5 separate regions of the Homo sapiens genome follow, and regions 2, 3, 4 and 5 are each linked to region 1. Evidence: promoter capture Hi-C in 16 types of primary human blood cells and fetal thymus (Javierre and others, 2016). All regions are on one chromosome and are shown on one strand. The core of a region is centred on a gene start or on the middle of the fragment in contact, and the rest is flanking DNA. Distances in the headings are between cores, read along the strand shown.

The links. The method cuts DNA at HindIII sites, captures the fragments that hold promoters and counts their contacts. A CHiCAGO score of 5 or more calls a contact.
Region 2: a contact is called between a fragment that was not itself captured here and the fragment with the promoter of INHBA-AS1 in region 1, in 1 of 17 cell types (neutrophils). The highest score is 6.4, in neutrophils.
Region 3: a contact is called between a fragment that was not itself captured here and the fragment with the promoter of INHBA-AS1 in region 1, in 5 of 17 cell types (endothelial precursors, M1 macrophages, M0 macrophages and 2 more). The highest score is 10.2, in endothelial precursors.
Region 4: a contact is called between a fragment that was not itself captured here and the fragment with the promoter of INHBA-AS1 in region 1, in 1 of 17 cell types (neutrophils). The highest score is 5.1, in neutrophils.
Region 5: a fragment that was not itself captured here is called in contact with the fragment with the promoter of INHBA-AS1 in region 1 in 1 of 17 cell types (neutrophils); the score reaches 5.2 in neutrophils.

The regions. Positions count from the first base shown.
Region 1 is chr7:41,692,525-41,695,274 of GRCh38, reverse strand. It overlaps INHBA-AS1 (INHBA antisense RNA 1), which reads right to left and starts at 1,356. Exons shown (of 4, transcript NR_027118.2): 1 at 1,187-1,356. All of the region lies in intron 2 of INHBA (inhibin subunit beta A), which reads left to right. The HindIII fragment of the contact is 8,944 bases long and covers 1-2,750 here.
Region 2 is chr7:40,990,846-40,993,595 of GRCh38, reverse strand. It overlaps a transcript of SUGCT not described here. Among named protein-coding and RNA genes, the nearest start is that of LINC01450, 12 kb to the right of the region's middle. The HindIII fragment of the contact is 2,169 bases long and covers 335-2,503 here.
Region 3 is chr7:41,008,854-41,011,603 of GRCh38, reverse strand. It overlaps a transcript of SUGCT not described here. Among named protein-coding and RNA genes, the nearest start is that of LINC01450, 30 kb to the right of the region's middle. The HindIII fragment of the contact is 250 bases long and covers 1,278-1,527 here.
Region 4 is chr7:41,030,308-41,033,057 of GRCh38, reverse strand. It overlaps a transcript of SUGCT not described here. Among named protein-coding and RNA genes, the nearest start is that of LINC01450, 52 kb to the right of the region's middle. The HindIII fragment of the contact is 8,480 bases long and covers 1-2,750 here.
Region 5 is chr7:41,131,172-41,133,921 of GRCh38, reverse strand. It overlaps LINC01449 (long intergenic non-protein coding RNA 1449), which reads right to left. Exons shown (of 6, transcript NR_110832.1): 6 at 421-698. All of the region lies in intron 1 of LOC105375241 (a long non-coding RNA gene), which reads left to right. Among named protein-coding and RNA genes, the nearest start is that of LINC01449, 31 kb to the right of the region's middle. RefSeq lists a silencer at 1,736-1,815. The HindIII fragment of the contact is 5,556 bases long and covers 1-2,750 here.

The DNA of each region.
Region 1 (2,750 bases), core at 107-2,606:
ATGTGTTCTATAAACAACGAGGCTTTCCACATTCACATTAGAGACATAACTATTGCCCATATGTAAAAGAGCAACATATTTTAAGCAGGACCCTGGTGAGGAAAACAAAACCAAATCGAAACACTGCATGTGTGTGTTGCTTATTTAACTGAAAATGTTCATAGACCCACAAATCTGAGATGCTGGACTTTTGGATGAGTCCAGCATTTTGCATCTTAGTGTAGGGGGAGGGAACAACAAGGGGCTTAGTTGCTTAACCCTTGCCATGCCTTCATGATTGACTTATTCAAAACATTTTTAAAATTCTGAAAGCAAAGGAAAATGTGCTGCAAACACCCTTCCAGCTATCTTTCCTTCCAGCTTACACAGTCTCTCCTCTGTCCAATCCTTCCCACCCAGCAGCATTTCAGAGGTATTCCCTGTGAGGTACAAAATTTCTCTTTGCCCATTTTTCTGCACCTCTTTTTCTCTCTCTTTGGTATGTGTCCACCAAGCTCATAGAGGTTTAAGTGATGAAATATTATCACCCACATGGGTTTGCGTGGGACTTTCTTAGTGAATTACTCAGGCAGAGCAGGCTGTGATACAGCCTTGCTCACAAGCCTCGGGAGGGAAAAAATAGCACAGAGGATGAAAAGAATATTATTAGAGAGCAGGTAATGAAAGGTTCGCAAAGCAACCAGCTATATCTGGTTAGCTAGGTAATAGTGCAGGAACCTAGGTCGCACCTGTACAAACTAATGCAGAACCTGCTCACGGCGCACTATGGGAAGACATTCATTTCAAGAGTTTACAGCATGAGATATTTGAGTAAAACCTGAAACTGATTAGAAATTGATCCTGAACATCCCAGCCTTAGTCAACCTTCCCTTTTTCAAATTGTTATGCATGGAGATTGGAGGATTGGGGCATCTTGAAAGTGTCACTGCAGTATAGCAATCTCTCTCAGGTAATATAGAGATAAAGGGAATATAATAAATTGACCTGTTATTTATTATCTTTTTCATACCTAGGACATTCCGAGGCTTAATATATTTCTGAAGCCTACAGCCCTGATAAACATCAATCCCACGTCAGTTTCCAGCAGTCTCATCTCCCCACACCCTTCTGCAATGAAAGCTAATGTAAAAGAAAGAAATATGCACTGCTTAATAAGTCAGAATACAATAGAACTTGTAAAATGTACCTGCATATAAGGTAGACATTAGGAAGACTTGAATCTCTCTCTTCCCCCTGTTCTCCTGAGCATTATGGCAACAGCATTTTCATGAAATTAGATCTGTTTTATATTTTTTCCTGATAAAATATCATGCAATATACAAATAGCAGTTCCAGAAATGGACACCAGGAGAAGGAGGCGACAGGCATGTCAATTAGTAGGGGGAAAATCCAAATGTCAGAAATATGGGGGAGAGAGAAAGCACGCAGGCAGTGGATGCAAATACAGGGAACAGAGTCTTTCAATTCAGATAATTAAACGGATGCATAAATCAGCACCCTTGCCTCTCTACAATACGCAGGCGATGCCATGCAGTTAATTATCAGCCAAGACCAGCATGAAAGTCATTTTATGATGACTCTCTGATCCTAATATAACAGCACCTGACAGATTGAGCCCCCTCTAATGAGTACTCTCTTTGTACAATCCTCTCTCAGGAACACTAAATCATTTGCTTCCAAGTACAGCTGCCTGTGAAGAAGGGGTGGGGCTAGATCATGCATCAGAAACCTGCTCTTGTGAAATCAGGGGCTGTCCTGTAGGCTGTGTGACTGGAAGCCAGCAGCCTCAGCCTCTCTGGCCCTAAAAAAGCAATTTGCACACGGCTGTCCCTAATTCTAGTCAGCCAAGTAACCCTCCCTCGGCACCCCCACCTAAACATCTGTAGTCAGCCTTGGGTGTTATTCATGGAAAGTCCACTGCATGCGGGTCAGCACTGCTGTCCATCGGCTTCACCCTGACCCCTTCTGGCAGGTGTGGATGAGAGTAGAGCAGAGCTCATGGGGATGAGTTACCCCAAACCTATTAAGCCTCCCTATCCGGGGCACTAGTCAGACACTCCAGTTTTACACTCTTTCCTAGAAAAACAAAACCCAACCTTGTGCCCTCTGGGTTCTCTAATTTAGCAGCTACTATCTGTCTGTTTTTGGAGTGACACCCTGTGCAGTTTAGGATTTCAGAAGCTGTCCTGCATAGAGGCAGAAGGGAAAACAGCAGGTATCTTGTTAACATTCTCTATGGGGCAAGGCAGATGTGCCCAAGCTGGAGGAAACCTGCACACCCTCCAGGCTAGTTATCCAAGGCTTGGGAGGTTTCCCTCGGCCTTCTCCTAAGGCCTTGGCAGGACCCTGCCACCCTAAAATCAACTGCTGATTGCCTTTTTAGATTTAAATGATTAAGCTCTGCTTATGGGAATCTTCTTCTCTTTTATTTTGTTAAGAAACAAACAACAACAACAAAACCCACACCAATTCTTAGCAAAGGGGAATATCGAATTCAGATTTTGAAAAAATAAGTCATCATGCTTCCTAAAATAAGACAGCTTCTCCCTCTAACTGCTCTCTCTGCTCTGGTATTCTATCTAATCATAAACCCAGCTTTATTATTCATTTCAACTCCTGCCAAAGACATGAGGTCGGAGTCAGAGGAACTCCCCTTACCACCGCCACCATCATCATGGCCAGCATCCTCGTAAGTTTATAGAAAGATGCCAGAGAACCTTTCCTATCCATCTGCAGCCCTGCTTGGCCCT
Region 2 (2,750 bases), core at 170-2,669, 700 kb after region 1:
CTAGACTCATGAAGGAAACTGCAGATGAAGCTGCTTCCTGTGCGGTGAGATGTGAACACCCAACAATGAAGGGAACCAGTGACACAGAAAGCCTTTCATTTTCCATCTTCCCTCTGAGAAGCTCTCCACCCAGGCTTTGGCCAGGATTCTACCAACACTTCCTGACTTTTGAGCTCAGGTCCATTTGTAAGCCTCTCGCATTCAGCTCTGCAGGGTAAGCAGACAGCATCAGGGCATCTCCTTTACCTCCCATAATTGAGCTCTCTTCCTCCATAGAGTGAGCAAACACAGTGCACAGAACACTGAACACATCTAGGATTGCCTTGGAAAAGCTTGCCATTTAGTGGGTAGTAGAAAGACTTCTCAGGAATAAAAATAAGGGTGATGAGGTCTGCCCTCATTTGTGATCTAGAGCATTTTAACCCAAGAGGTCCACAAACCAGAAGATCCATATGACCAGGAGGCAGGGGCTAGTTAGAAACAGAAACTCAGACCTCATGCAAGAACTCCTGAATCAGAATCTGCATTTTAGTAAGATCTCCAGGTGATTTATGCACATATCCAAGGTTGAGAAACCTATACCAGGGAACCAATTTCCCTTGAGCCTGCATACAAGGAGGTCTGTGCCCTAATTCCTCCTTCATTCTCTTACCTGTCCCCTCCCCACATAACTGTGTCTGTGTCCACAGTCCTCTCTCACAATGCTCAAGCCTCACAACACTCTTGCTCTTGAATATATGCCTTAAATTCTCACAACAGCTCATAGATATGTTTTCTTGTACCCACATTACAGGTACTGAAACTGAGGTCCAAAGAGAAAATAACTCACCTAGGGTAGAATTACTGCTAGGTGTGGCTGTGCCTGGAATTTGAAGCTAGGCTTGGCTCACTCCAAAGCCAAATCTCTTCCTATTATAACCAGAACTACTTCATACATACCTCCTATGGCCCATTTTTCCCAGAAAAACCCTTTTCAGAATATGGGGAAGCAGTTTTCACAGATCCTATAGACCCACAAGAGGGATACTTTTGTCAGAGGTATTTGAACCAGAGCAACTCCATCTTGAATAGGGACTCGGTAAAATAAGGCCGAGACCTACAATGGGCTGTGTTTTCAACAGGTTAAGGCATTCTTAGTCACAAAATGGGACAAGAAGTCAGCACAAAATACAGGTCGTAAAGACCTTGCTGATAAAACAGGTGTGGTAAAGAAGCCAAAACCCACCAAAATCAAGATGGCCATGAAAGTGACCTCTGGTTGTCCTGACTGCTCATTATATGCTAATTATAACACATTAACATGCTAAAAGACACTCCCGCCAGTGTCATGACAGTTTATAAATGCCATGGCAATATCTGGAAGTTAACCTATATGGTCTAAAAAGCGGAGGAACCCTCGGTTCTGGAAAATGCCCACCCCTTTTCCGGAAAACCCATGAATAAGCCATCCCTTGTTTAGCATATAATCAAGAAATAACCATAACATAGCCAACCAGTAGCCCTCGGGGCTGCTCTGCCTATGGAGTAGCCATTCTTTATTCCTTTACTTGCTTAATAAACTTGCTTTCACTTTACTCTGTGGACTGATCCTGAATTCTTTCTTGCAGCAAGAAAGAATTCCCTCTCTTGGGGTCTGGATTGGGACCTCTTTCTGGAAACACATTCTCTGGCAGTTCAGATGTTCCCCTCACCACTGTTCTTGCCACAAAATAGCTGAGAAAACTCAGCTTCCATCTTCTAACACCATGCAGAAGAGGGAAAGGCTCTTCTGATACGTGCTCGTCCTGGAGGTATTATCATTTATTGGCCCAAGTTGTTTCATGCCCATTCTTTCCCAATCACAGGGGCTGAAGGTGAAAATACTGAAACACTTAAACCAATATGGGGGCATTCCTGGAGCTGCAGGTGGGTCTTCTCACCAGACACATGGTCAAACGGGAGGAAGTAAATTCCCTCCGGCCTGCCTCACCCTAAACAAATCAAGATACAATAGATGAAGTGAGAACGTAGAGGCATACTTCACTTTATTGTGCTTCATTTTATTGCATTTCACAGATACTGCATTTTTTACAAATTGAAGGCTTGTGGCAACTCTGTATCCAACAAGTCTATCGGTGTCATTTTTCCAACAGCCTGCACTCACTTCGTGTCTCTGTGTCACATTTTGGTAATTCTCAAAATATTTCCAATTTTTCAAATTATTATTATATCTTTTATGGTGATCTGTGATCAGTGATCTTTGATGTTACTATTGCAATTGTTTTGAGGTGCAAGGAACAGTGAAGATGGCAAATCTGATTAATAAATGTTGGAATTGCTCTGACTCCTCCACCAACCAGCATTCTCCATCTTTCTCCATCTCCTCAGGCCTCCCTATTCCTTTGAGACACCACAATACTGAAATTAGGCTAATTAATAACCCTGCAATGGCATCTAAGTGTTCAAGTGAAAGGAAGAGTTGCACATCTCTTTCTTTAAATCAAACGCTGGAAATGATTAAGCTTAGCGAGGAAGACACGTCAAAAGCTGAAATAGGCCAAAAGCTAGGCCTCTTGTGCCAAGTAGTTAGTCAAGTTGTGAATGCAAAAGGAAAGGAATGAGAAAGCAAAATGACTTATTGCTGATATGGAGAAAGTATGAGTGGCCTGGACAGAAGATCAAGCCAGCCACAACATTCCCTTAATTTAAGCCTAATCCAAAGCAAGGCCCTAACTCTCTTCACTTCTGTGAAAGCTGAGAAATGAGGAAGC
Region 3 (2,750 bases), core at 153-2,652, 680 kb after region 1:
GTTACTTATGAAACACTTGGGAAATATTGTTAAATCAGATTCTTATTTAGTAAGTCTGGGGTATGGTCTGAGTTTCTGCATTTCTAACAAGCTCCCCTAGAGGTTGGGGGATACCCCAGTTGGGGTACCACACTTTGAATAGTGGGGGCTCTAAGAAATAAATCATACTAGCAGAAGAGACAAAGATTATTACTTTCTCCCAATAAAGCAGCATCTGTGTCCACCTTCTCACTTCCCTTTTGTCTTCTACTATCTTTTCTGCATGTTCTAATTTGTGGCTGAGGCTAAAGAAAGGATGTACAGTAGGTACACACGAAACCCCAGGTTTGTACAGCTCCCCTCTTCTGAGTGCCTGCTTGTTCTTCTATCCGCCTCCCTCTGCCTGATCTCATCTGGATGGCTGGACTTCCTTCCTCTCCAGAGGGAATTCCACTGAAACAGCTGCTTCCTCCTCATGCGTGTCAACCAGTGTTCTTATAGAACTGTCATAATCTAGAGCTTGGAATCGAGCATGAGAAATCAGCAGGTCCAGGCTTCTGCCCTCAGTAAGTGAATGTCCAAACCCTTCAAAGGGAAAGATATGCCTATTTTCCTCACCCAAACCACCATCATTTCTTTTTGTTTGTTTGTTTGTTTTTTAACCATTCATATTTTCAAACATCAGCTGTGGGCCTGGCTCAGTTTGAGACTCAGTCATCAAGACCATATTTGGATTAATTTCGTTCCAGGTCAAACATTCCAATTTAATACATTTATCCCATGATTTCCTAATGCTATCAAATGACACATCGTTTTATTTTTTTTCTTTGTTTTTCTCTTTCAACTAATTTATTTAATGGGTCCAAAATGGGTGATTACAGCACAAAAACATGTGGTATCCTAATTGGATTTTGAAAATGTGTAAACATGGCCCTCCGGTGGCTTGCTATTACCATCTGGACCAAATATAAACTTCTGACCATTGCCTTCAAACTCTCCTTCACCCAGCACCACCCTATGGCCACTCTCATCTGTGACTTCTCCTCTCCAAGTTCCCTCTGTTCCAGCCAGACTGTGCTTCTTGTTTTTCAGAACCAGTTTCTCAATTTCCGCTTCAAGGCCTCTGCCTGAACTGGTCTACAGAGAAGGAACAAGTTCCTACCTTCCATTCTCTATGCCTTTCAGAAGGCTTCTCAGATTTCACTCCTAGAAATGTTTCCCAAACTAATCCTATCCATTTTTTTACTCCACTATGATCCCTACTTCACCTCAATGTCTGCAATTATTTGGGCAAAGCTTGTGTTTTACTCGTGTCTATCTACGTGGCTCATTGAGTCATTAACAGTAACAGTAGCAGTGGTTCCTACGTGTTGGTATCTAAGCCAGGTTCTGGGGCTCCACTGTGAACAAGCAATCAATGTACTTAATATCACAGTTTACATTCAGGTTTGGGAAGGTGGATAATGAGCAATAAATGAACAAACAAAAATTTCAGATGGTGAAAAAGTTCTGCTGGGTGGTGTGAGGTTAGAGGGCAGGGAGCAAGCTTCCTCTTGATCTGAACTCTCCATCTCTCTGAATTCACTTTACAAAATAGTACACATCCAGCGCAAACACATGTAGGCTCACTTGGTTGAGATGCACACATCAAAGTTTGCATGTGAATACAGCACATATCTCAAGGGAAGTTTCTTTGTGAGGCCAGTCATGCCTGGGGAAATATCATCGAAGAGAGTGATCACTGATTTCATTGATGAGAAGGTACTTTTCTGCAGTCTTCAGTATAGCCCAGAGTTTCTCAAACTTAACACATCTGGGGTACTTGTTAAAAGTCAGACCACATAATGAAAACATTGTACTATAGCTTTTAAGGGACAAGAATCAGGACACTGAGATGGATGAATGGGTGGGTGGATGGAAGGAAGGATGGATAGTGGATGGAAGGACGGATGGATGGTGGATGGAAGGAAGGATGGATGGTGGATGGAAGGAAGGGTGGATGGTGGATGGAAGGAAGGATGGATGGTAGATGGAAGAAAGGATGGATGGTGGATGGAAGGAAGGATGGATGGTGGATGGAAGGAAGGATGGATGGATGGTGGATGGAAGGAAGGAAGGATGGTGGATGGATACATAGATGGACCCAGTTACCCAGTGCTCTAAGTTAGCAACCAAATTCACAAGAAGATTCATGGCTTTACCTGTCCCGTGGCACTAGGCCTATGATTTGGGAACCTAAACTCAGTTCAGTCTCCTTCCTCTAATTTTTATGAAGAAACATTTTATTCATTGAGCCCTGGGTATAAAAATCATTTTGAGAATTAATAATTAACATAGATTCATAGACTGTGAAATCGAATCTTTCATTCCATTGCCCATCATTTAACATATAAGTTGCTTTTTTTTTTTTTTTTTTAGAGAGAGACATTGTCACCCAGGCAGAAGTGCAGTGGCACTGTCATGGCTCACTATAACCTTAAACTCCTGGGCTCAAGCCATTCTCTCACCTCAGCTTTCCAAAGCTCTGGGATTAAGGCATGATCCACCATACCCGGCTAAATTGCATTCTTTAGAACTGCATTTTCCCCAAAATAAGTCACTTTTAAGCCATGTCCCTTTTTTGCTCATACCACAGGACATTTAATACTACTGGAAACAGAGATACCATCATATTCTCGCAAGACCCAACAAGAAGCCACCATGCATCGGGACCAGACACCATCCCTTCGGGTGGGACCAGATACCATCCCTTCGGGTGACCACGAGGCAGC
Region 4 (2,750 bases), core at 119-2,618, 660 kb after region 1:
CCACGCAGTGGCTCATGCCTGTAATCCCAGGACTTTGGAAGGCCAAGGTGGGTGGATCACAAGGTCAGGAGATCGAGACCATCCTGGCCAACATGGTGAAACCCTGTGTCTACTAAAAATACAAAAATTAGCTGGGCATGATGGCATGTGCCTATAGTCCCAGCTACTCAGGAGGCTGAGGCAGGAGAATCGCTTGAACCCGGGAGGCAGAGGTTGCAGTGAGCCAAGGTCTCACCACTGCACTTCAGCCTAGCGACAGAGTGAGACTCCGTCTCAAAACAAACAAATAAACAAACAAAAACTGGGGTTTTTTGTTTTTACCCCACTGAAAAGCACTCACTTCAGGAGCCTAGAGATAAAGCTCTGTGTCACTCAGAGGTGGCATTCTGCATAGAACACAAATTAGTCTCCTGTGGCTTAGCCAGTTTATTTTTCTCTGATGACACATCTGAAGGTAGGCTCCACCATATTTTTAAGGTTCAAGGCTCTTTCCGTCTTTCTGGTCTGACTTTCTTAGAATGTAGTTGTGTACTTACAGTGAGTCTACTCTTGCCTTTCCTTTACATTCCAGGCAAAAAAAGAGGAAGACAGGCAACAGGAAGGAAAGGATACCTTCGTATCAGGAAAATGAAACTTTCTCTGAATCGCCAGCAATCTTCTGCTTCTCACTGGTGAGAATTGTCTGAGATGGTGAACTCCACTGAAAAAGAAAAAAAAAAAAACATGAGAAATGTAGCTTTTATTTTTAAAATGTAGGACATTGTCCCCTTGAACAAAACTGGGATTCTATTAGCAAGGAAAAAGATGCACATGGGTACTAGGTAGGTAACCAGCAGTGTGTACCCCAAGTCTGGAGATGTGCACTTGGCCTATCTGGGGAAGATAATTCTTTTGTTGTGTGTATTTGCTTGTTGGTTTAGTTCTACAGCCCTTACAGCTGTGGTGTGAAAGGCAATAATATGAATTTCCTGTCTTGTTCATATAATCCCCCAGCTTTTAGCATGTGCTTCAAGCATCTTCAGTCTAATTTTAGGTTCATTCATTCATTCATTCATTCATTCATTGAGACCCTACTAGATACTGGGCACAGGGCTCCACTCCATGAGCATGATGGAGTGAAGCTGGCTCCTATACTCATGAGCTTGCATTCTAGTAGAGAGAGGAGGATGCATGATCAGGTAAGTACAAGGTGGAGAGAAGAGTGCCACAACAAGGGAAGTAAATGATGCAATGGGGCACACAATATGCCAGGCATGCAGCCCATTAGGGGTTAGGGAGGGTGCTCAGAGAAGAGTAAGAGAGGAAGGTAATAGAGATGAGTGGGTGGGTCATTCTAGGAGAAATGGTAAGTATGATCTAAAGAATTTGGAAGAAGAATGTTGGCCTTCTGGAAATTTTGAAAGTTCAGAATATCTGAAATATAGCCTTTGAAACAAGGAAAAGCCAACAGGAGGTAGGCAACGGTCAGATCGTGATGCCCTTGTCCAGAAAGCACAGGGAGCCAATGACGGGCTTGAAGTGGAAGTCACAGATGGCCACAGACAGTCATGCTGTAACCTTGACCTGTCTGGAAAAGACTATTTTTACCACTGTGGATCAATCAGTTGAGACAATTCCATTCCAAATGATTTTGTTCTTACTTGGCAAAGCAACTGGGTAGAAAACAGATAATTTTCTTTCTCAGTCCTTTTTAGCAGTACTATGCAGACACAGCTTCCAAAATTCATAAATCAGAGAGCCCAGACCATATTGCTAGCATCCTCACCAACCTGTGACATTTCAGGCCATCATTTCAGGTTTCAGTGAACTGCCCTGCCGAGACTTGGCATAAGCTATTAGCATAGAAGACAGAGAATTCTTGATTTAAATAATCCTATGGGCCAGCCTGGGTAACATAGTGAGGCCCCATCTCTACACAAAATTTAAAAATTAGGCCAGCGTGGTGGCTTGCATTTGTGGTCCTAGCTACTTGGGAAGCTGAAGTGGGAAGATCACTTGAGCCCGGGAGACGGAAGTTGCTGTGTGCTGAGATCGTGTCACTGCACACCAACCTGGGCAGCAGAGTGAGACTCTTATCTCAAAATAAACAAATAATCAATCCTGTGGCACTTGGTTCCTACTACATTATCTACGATGCACTAATATGTCCTCCAACTATGAGTAATCATTACAGCACTCCCCTCTGTATCCTCCTCCCTTGGGGGTGGTCTGACCTGTTTCCTCCCTTTCTCCTCACTCACCACCCTGGGCTACTCCCACAACTCAGAGGCAACGATCTCACTTCTAGCCAATGAAGACTCACCTTGGAATTAACTTTTTATCATAACTGTAAAGACCAAACAGAAATGTCAGCATACATTCAGAATTTATAATGTATGATTAATCCAGGATGGAAATTGGGGTGGTGTGGGAAATCCTTAGATACTAAATAAAAATGTGTGAAAAATTCAAGCAGCAGATAACTTGGAAATCTAATCTTAAAATTTCTCAGCAGGAAAATGTAAAGGGAGGGACGAGAGGAGGAAGTAAAGAGTGCAAGGAAACATGTAAAATGAATGTTTATTTGCTTATTATTTTATAACCATCCTCTTTATGTGTATTTTCCAGACTGTATGTTATCACTGCCTTAATGGATGAGTCAAAAATCAGAAGGGTTAAATGAACTCCTAAAGGATGAAAGCCAGACTTTCCATTTCACCCACCATTTTTCAGAAAGTAAGGCTTCCAAATGAAACTCCATTTTGCCTACT
Region 5 (2,750 bases), core at 63-2,562, 560 kb after region 1:
CAGAAGCATCTTCATTTGAATTTAAAGGGGTGGATGAGTGACAGCAAGACTCTGTTCTCCTTCTGACAGGGCTTTGGCAGATCATTGGTTGTCATCAAACCTATTCCATTTCTTGCTCCCTGCCAGGAATTCCACCTACATGCCTGATGGCAATTAGTCCCTTGTAGGTGCTAATGAATAAAACGCAGCACGTAGACTTCACGAGGATGAAAAAGCCCACGATCCAGATCCAGAGAGTCACTCCAAGAATCAGTCCCCCACCCCGGCCCCCCCTCCAATATAGCTCTCACTCTGTCCAGCCAAATGCTAGAGCCAGCCAGCCACCCCCCGCCCCCACCCCCTTCTTCTGTGCACTTGGCCATGGAAAATAGAAAGCAGCTATTTGATGAGGACACAACTAAGCAGAAATCAAGATTTTAGAGCACGAAGTATTACTTGTTTTTCAATTTCTGTCACAGGCTGGGATGATACCAGTTTAGGACAGTCTGTGTCAGAGCATTTGAGCTGAATCTCCAAACCCAAACATGCTTTGGAAGAAGCATTTAGAGACCTTGTTGGGAAGCATTCTGCACTGAGTGGGGGGGTGCGCGTTGTATTATCAGTGGTTCCCAAGACTTGCTGATAATCAGATGTTCCTAAGCGGCCTTTAAAAGTTCAGATTCTTCGACCTTGTCTCTGGATATTCTTGGTCAGAAGGCCTGGAATAGAACCCGAAAATCTAAATTTTAGAACAATCTCCCCAGATGCATCTGATGCTCACACTAGATTCAGTACTTCTGAATTGGCTAAGCTCTTGTGTCCCATTCATCTCCAGCACTAGGTGTTGATTGAAAAGTTCTCAAAGGTTGTGCTCACCATTCATTTGCACCTTGACTGTGCTCTGAACATTGAAAAAAAAAAAACCAAAAAATTCTCCTTTGTAATCTGACCACCTATCAGAGGTGAATTAATATTCAAAGATTCTTTTGAAATTGAAGCTGTAGGTGATTTTTAAATTTTTCTTACACTTTTATTATAATTTTCAAATGTTACACCTTTACTGAATAATAAGCAGGGTTTTTCTAATAATAAAAAGGCAGCAAATGTAATTTTTAAAGATCTTTTTGCATTTCAACAGAAACTGATTGGCTCACAGAGAAAACTGTATTTCAGTATAATTCAGTTTCTTTAAATCCTATATGTTTTTAGTACAGGCACTGAAAAAATGTTACTAGGAAAAGGGTTCCTGGAACTCACCAGACTTTCCCATTGACAGTCCAAAGAGTAAAAGGGATTAAGAACCCCTGGTATGCCAAAAATTAGCTTATTATTCCTATTTTGCATGTATACAAGTATTGTCACCCTAGGATTTCAAAATACATCACAAAACAATTGCAGCTAAAGCCTTGGAGTGACCTGTGCTTGCAGCATGGTCTCTTCTAATGGTAGCAAACCAAAGAAAGTGGTAAGAAAGAAATTTTTTCTTCCAGTTTTCATGGGCCCCAAAGGTTAAGATAGCTTAAATAAGACTCCCCAGAGCATTCAAACTCCCTCATGTTTATCAGAAAGAGAACTTAATCCAAAACCTTTGAGGTTTGTCCTTCTCTAGTCAATATCTATTTCGGCAAAACAATCATGGTTCTAAAGTATAACAGTGAAGCAAGGAAGAAAGGAGAGATTTTTCTTTCTGATAGTGAAATGGGCAGGTGCAGTTGAGACGGAAAGGCCATAATTAACACATTGTTCAGCCAAGGCACTGTAGACGTCCATGCAAGACTGCACAAATCCTCCCCCTGCCCCACACGCCTGAGTTCAAGGTTTTGCAAGAAAGGAAGCCAAAGGTGCCCTGCCATTCAAGAAACAGACCCCTAGAGCCTGAACTTCAGTACCCTCGAGGTACACACAGAGGAAATTCTACACTGCCAAGCCAGTAAAATTGGATTGTGTAAAAACTCGTGCATTTTAAACCACATAAGAAAGAAAAGGAAAACACTTTTTAATTGGACATATAGTTATGTGGCAAGACTTATACATGTATTGGAGTTTTAAAAATCTAATCAGATAAATATTGTTATTTCTATGATATAGATGAGAAATTAAGCCTGGAAAGTTATGTAATTTATCCAATGTCAGACTCTCAATTACTTTATTTTTAACTGGCTGAATCCTAGGACAAACATTGACTACCTTTATCTATGATCATATTAAAGCATTGTAGACTAAGAAAGGTGGCTAGCACAGGGTTGGAAAATTCCTCGAACTTCCTCTCATCCCATACTTGTGGCAGACCTCATAAATTTGAAGTCTGTGCTATTTCTTTCCCGGCCCAGAAAGCTGCTCAGTGGAACATTTCAGGAAATCACTACAAATCAGCTATAGCCAGCACATAGGTGGCACCTGGAGTCCAGGGCAGCCAGGTTCAGGGGACAGGATGGGACTGGAGAGGGAGCAGGTAGAGCTGGTTGATAGGAGCTGCCCTCCCCCCCAGCCCCTTAGCCTCTTCCCCAGGCTCTATGGAAGGAAAATTCTATAGAAACTCCTTATACCTCTTAAAATATCACCTAAATCATTGACAAAAATACTATTCTCTGGTAATAGTTTATTGTGTTCACTACCCTATAGAATCACTCACAGGCTCTGGATTGGAAAGAAATAGATTGCTTTAACACAAAGGATTTAATCTTTGTGGAAGAAATGACTTTCTCCTTGACTAGAGGTTAAGGCAGATTTCTTTCTTTCTTTTTATTTATTATTTTTATTTTTTTTAAATT